Regions from separate parts of the Homo sapiens genome. Here region 2 is linked to region 1. The links are contacts of gene promoters, found by promoter capture Hi-C in human tissues and cell types (Jung and others, 2019). All regions are on one chromosome and are shown on one strand. The core of a region is centred on a gene start or on the middle of the fragment in contact, and the rest is flanking DNA. Distances in the headings are between cores, read along the strand shown. Region 1 holds the start of KRAS (KRAS proto-oncogene, GTPase). Region 2 has its middle 30 kb from the start of RASSF8.

Evidence for each region. The method cuts DNA at HindIII sites, captures the fragments that hold promoters and counts their contacts. A contact is called where the count stands out against the background at its distance.
Region 2: a fragment that was not itself captured here is called in contact with the fragment with the promoter of KRAS in region 1 in 1 of the 25 tissues and cell types used here (mesenchymal stem cells).

What each region holds. Positions count from the first base shown.
Region 1 is chr12:25,249,596-25,252,464 of GRCh38, reverse strand. KRAS (KRAS proto-oncogene, GTPase) reads left to right here and starts at 1,536. Exons shown (of 5, transcript NM_004985.5): 1 at 1,536-1,714. RefSeq lists silencers at 976-1,825, 1,886-1,935. The HindIII fragment of the contact is 8,237 bases long and covers 1-2,869 here.
Region 2 is chr12:25,927,169-25,930,136 of GRCh38, reverse strand. No RefSeq gene overlaps it. Among named protein-coding and RNA genes, the nearest start is that of RASSF8, 30 kb to the left of the region's middle. The HindIII fragment of the contact is 4,682 bases long and covers 1-2,968 here.

The DNA of each region.
Region 1 (2,869 bases), core at 287-2,786:
CCACTGATGATCTGGGAGTAGAGTGACTATGATCCGACATGAAGTATACTCCATTTTTTAACTATGTGAACTTGTGCCAACGTTTTAACCTCTAAATCTGTTTCGTCATTTGTAAAACGGTAAAAAGTATTTTACCTCATAAGGTTGTCGTGATGATTAAATAAGATGATACGATAAGTGCAAAAGATTTAGCTTGTACTTAACATAGAGTAGGCACATTTTCTCCCCTTCCCTGTCTTTCACTTTTCTCTTCTGCCCCTTCCACCTGGCGCTAGGAGGGGGAGACTGGAATAAACCTTGCAGATTACAGCCCGTGTAAGAGTAGAAAGGAAAGGATGACAGTTGATGTAAAGCCTTGGTTAACAGACATAATAGCTGGGATTTAAATTCAGCTTTATTGGTGGTTTATGATGTGGACTAGAGGAATGGAACTGAAAGTCTCGGAGGAGGGGCGATCCTATCAGGTACAGGCGCTGCTTTTCCAGCCCTCAATCCTCAAGACTCTCCCAAGATACATTTCTAGGTAGTTTATCAACACAGACTCCGGGTATGCTAGCATGTTTAATTGCCCCATTGTTTAATGTCTTAACTCCACGAACTTTAACTGATTAATCTGTCTTCTAATTAATGTTTGAATGACTCTCCTCAGGTCTAAACTACCAAGGCCATCTCTACTTAAAAACAGTTGTCTTTTGTTTGTGATTTCAGGGGCCCTGGGTATAAGCGAAGTCCCTGTTTAGAGACCTTGTGATGGGTTCAAAATATCAAGAAAGATAGCAAAATATCACAAGCCTCCTGACCCGAGAAGATTAGCGTTGAAAGGGTCTGTCGTGTTTGTTTGGGCCTGGGGCTAAATTCCCAGCCCAAGTGCTGAGGCTGATAATAATCGGGGCGGCGATCAGACAGCCCCGGTGTGGGAAATCGTCCGCCCGGTCTCCCTAAGTCCCCGAAGTCGCCTCCCACTTTTGGTGACTGCTTGTTTATTTACATGCAGTCAATGATAGTAAATGGATGCGCGCCAGTATAGGCCGACCCTGAGGGTGGCGGGGTGCTCTTCGCAGCTTCTCTGTGGAGACCGGTCAGCGGGGCGGCGTGGCCGCTCGCGGCGTCTCCCTGGTGGCATCCGCACAGCCCGCCGCGGTCCGGTCCCGCTCCGGGTCAGAATTGGCGGCTGCGGGGACAGCCTTGCGGCTAGGCAGGGGGCGGGCCGCCGCGTGGGTCCGGCAGTCCCTCCTCCCGCCAAGGCGCCGCCCAGACCCGCTCTCCAGCCGGCCCGGCTCGCCACCCTAGACCGCCCCAGCCACCCCTTCCTCCGCCGGCCCGGCCCCCGCTCCTCCCCCGCCGGCCCGGCCCGGCCCCCTCCTTCTCCCCGCCGGCGCTCGCTGCCTCCCCCTCTTCCCTCTTCCCACACCGCCCTCAGCCGCTCCCTCTCGTACGCCCGTCTGAAGAAGAATCGAGCGCGGAACGCATCGATAGCTCTGCCCTCTGCGGCCGCCCGGCCCCGAACTCATCGGTGTGCTCGGAGCTCGATTTTCCTAGGCGGCGGCCGCGGCGGCGGAGGCAGCAGCGGCGGCGGCAGTGGCGGCGGCGAAGGTGGCGGCGGCTCGGCCAGTACTCCCGGCCCCCGCCATTTCGGACTGGGAGCGAGCGCGGCGCAGGCACTGAAGGCGGCGGCGGGGCCAGAGGCTCAGCGGCTCCCAGGTGCGGGAGAGAGGTACGGAGCGGACCACCCCTCCTGGGCCCCTGCCCGGGTCCCGACCCTCTTTGCCGGCGCCGGGCGGGGCCGGCGGCGAGTGAATGAATTAGGGGTCCCCGGAGGGGCGGGTGGGGGGCGCGGGCGCGGGGTCGGGGCGGGCTGGGTGAGAGGGGTCTGCAGGGGGGAGGCGCGCGGACGCGGCGGCGCGGGGAGTGAGGAATGGGCGGTGCGGGGCTGAGGAGGGTGAGGCTGGAGGCGGTCGCCGCTGGTGCTGCTTCCTGGACGGGGAACCCCTTCCTTCCTCCTCCCCGAGAGCCGCGGCTGGAGGCTTCTGGGGAGAAACTCGGGCCGGGCCGGCTGCCCCTCGGAGCGGTGGGGTGCGGTGGAGGTTACTCCCGCGGCGCCCCGGCCTCCCCTCCCCCTCTCCCCGCTCCCGCACCTCTTGCCTCCCTTTCCAGCACTCGGCTGCCTCGGTCCAGCCTTCCCTGCTGCATTTGGCATCTCTAGGACGAAGGTATAAACTTCTCCCTCGAGCGCAGGCTGGACGGATAGTGGTCCTTTTCCGTGTGTAGGGGATGTGTGAGTAAGAGGGGAGGTCACGTTTTGGAAGAGCATAGGAAAGTGCTTAGAGACCACTGTTTGAGGTTATTGTGTTTGGAAAAAAATGCATCTGCCTCCGAGTTCCTGAATGCTCCCCTCCCCCATGTATGGGCTGTGACATTGCTGTGGCCACAAAGGAGGAGGTGGAGGTAGAGATGGTGGAAGAACAGGTGGCCAACACCCTACACGTAGAGCCTGTGACCTACAGTGAAAAGGAAAAAGTTAATCCCAGATGGTCTGTTTTGCTTGGTCAAGTTAAACCCGAAGAAAACCCGCAGAGCAGAAGCAAGGCTTTTTCCTTGCTAGTTGAGTGTAGACAGCAATAGCAAAAATAGTACTTGAAGTTTAATTTACCTGTTCTTGTCCTTTCCCCTATTTCTTATGTATTACCCTCATCCCCTCGTCTCTTTTATACTACCCTCATTTTGCAGATGTGTTCTACATCTCAAGAGTTATTACAGTACTCCAAAACAGCACTTACATGATTTTTTAAACTTACAGAGGAATTGTAGCAATCCACCAGCTAACCGCCTGAAATAGACTTAAACATGTGCATCTCCTTTTTTTTTTTTT
Region 2 (2,968 bases), core at 239-2,738, 680 kb before region 1:
ACTTTCAGCTACTTGGGAGACTGAGGCATGAGAATCACTTGAGCCTGGGAGATGGAGGTTGCAGGGACCTGATAGCATACCGCTGCATTCCAATCCAGCCTGGGCGACAGAGAGAGATCCTGTCTCAAAAAAAAAAAAAAAAAAAAAAGGAAAGAAATCACTTGACTTGACCTGGAGTCCAGACTCCTTGGTGAAGCAAGGGAAACTAAAAGAATGTGATTAGCTAGGATTAGAAAAAACAAACAAACAAACGAAGAGCCAGGCATGGTGGTGTGCACCTGCAGTCCTAGAGACCCAGGACATGGGAGAATTGCTTGAGCCCAGGAGTTTGAGGCTGCCATGAGCTATAATTGTGCCACCATAGTCCAGTCCATGAGGCCAAAGTGCCACTTCTTTAAGGTGAAGGGATGTACAAAAGATAGAAATTAATGAAGATGAAATCAGAAAGGATCATCATCACGACCACCAAATTTAAAATCTTAGAGTATTGATCATAAGGTACAAGGCTGGCCATTCTGGTGGGTTCTGTGGATCTCAGAAGTAATCGGAAGATGCCACTCCGGGAATGTCTGCTTGACCCTGGGAGGCTATTGCTCCTCAGGAAGCTTCCAGGGATCCTCCCAAGGTCCTGCAGGTGGAAGACAAATAGAGAACAGACAGGCGATGTCTGCTGTTGTCAATGGCAATAAATCACAAAGGAAAGCCTTTGCCAGGAATCTTAAATTGAACCTAAGGGGTTTAGTTGAAACTGAGTAGTCCTTTGGAAGGGAACTGAACAATGACTCAACTCATTGACTTTGGCTCACTGGGTCCCCTTTCCCTCCCTCCCAGGGTAACTGAGATTGAATGAATAATAGCTGTGAAATACTCCCTTGAGAACAAGACTCCTACACACTAATAAAAACTAAATGCTTTCATTACAATTTAAGTGAATGACTTGCTACCCTAAAAAATGCCTCATAGTGAATGGCATAAGAGTGACACTTCCCCAAAATGTTACACATTAATATTAATTTATAGCAGAATCATGAATGTCTACACATTTTATTGATTGAAAATTAATTTGTGTAAACATTTGGGGAATGTTGGGAGGGAAGTCAATAAATACATGAAGTATTCAATTATTTGAACTACTTAGGTATAAGCAAACATTTACTATAGTATCATGGAAGAGTACATTCAGCACATTGAATAACTACTGATATTTTGGAGTCATTTGAAATGAAAAACATCTTTGTTCTCTCAGATCCCATTTCACCTCTCCTTTTCCTTCCCCTTGCCCCAATCCTTCCAATCCCTACTGTCTTTAAATATTTATTTCAGAGATATGGCAAAGATGGGAAGGAAAAAATTCACTTATTCCAGAAAGCAGCTAATTTCCTGGTCTTCATGACATAAGCATACTAGCTCTCCCGCACTGAAACAAATTGGATGACAATTTTAGGATAATTGAATTGCTTGATGCTTTTCAAGTTGTTAGGGAATCAGTGCTGTGAAAACCAATTTTTTTCAGTGCTACCTATACTGTCCTGTGATAGGAGATTTTCTATTTACCCATTCAAAACAAAACACAGAGCAAAGATTTATAGATTTGTGAGTGATTTGTGTTATATATACAATGGCAGTGAAAATGAACACCTGGTAAACTAAATTAAAACAAACTAAGTTGTCCGAATTTTCAATTAATCAGATATCATAATTAGGAAGTGACAAAAATCTGCACAAAAGAGATGTGTATATCCTAATTTAAAATGATTTCAGGGCCAAATAGCAACCTGTTTTGTTTTTTTGTTTGTTTGTTTTATGAGACAGGGTCTTGCTCTGTTACCCAGGCTGCAGTGCAACGGTATGATCATGGCTTACTGCAGGCCCAACCTCCTGACTCAAGCAATCCTCCCATCTCAGGCTCCCAAGCAGCTGAGACCACAGACAGGTACCACCACGCCTGGCTTTTTTTTTTTTTTTTTGGTATAGACAGAGTCTCGCCCCTATATCGCCCAGGCTCGTCTCAAACTCTTAGGCTCAAGTGACTCACTTGCCTTTGCCTCCCAAAGTGTTAGAATTACAGATGTGAGGCCAGACATGGTGGTTCACACCTGTATTTCCAGCATTTTGGGAGGTGGAGGAGGGTGGATCACTTGAGGTCAGGAGTTCGAAACAAGCCTGGCCAACATGTCAAAAGCTCATCTCTATTAAAAATACAAAAATTAGCCGGGTGTGGTGGCGGATGCCTGTACTACTCGGGAGGCTACTCGGGAGGCTGAGGCAGGAGAATCACTTGAACCCTGGAGGCGAAAGTTGCAGTGAGCCAAGATCATGAGATTGCACTCCCTCCTGAGCGACAGATCAAGACTCCGTCTCAAAAAACAAACTAAAGGATTAAAGATGTGAGCCCAGCCAGCAGCCAGTTTTGGATGGAGATGGGGATAGTAGGGTTCTGAGTTATGAAACAATTGATAATGTTACCAAACAAAATGGTTAGTAATCATAGAAGAGACTAAGTCATGAAAAGAAAATTTAAGGGGCAGAGACAAGCCATGAATCTGAACAGAAATGGAATGATTTAGGTCTCTGGCTCTCACACTTGAACATGAATCAGAATCACCTGGAGGACTTTTTAAACCACCAATTGCTGGTTCCACTCCCAAAGTTTCTGATGCAGTAGATCTGGGGTGGGGCCTGAGAATTTCCATTTCTTTTTTTTTTTTTTAATATGAGATGGGGTCTCACTATGTTGTCCAGCCTGATCTCAAACTCCTGAGTTCAAGTGATCTTCTCACGTCAGCCTCCCAAAGTGCTGAGATTACAGGCATGAGTTACCATGCCTGGCTAAGAATTTCCATTTCTAAGTTCTCAGAAAATGCTAATGCTGCTGGTTCTGGGACCACACTTTAAGAACCATTAACTCAGAGCAATATCTAGAGGCAGAAACATTTAATAAGAAAGTGTTGAAGACAGTGAGGGGAGA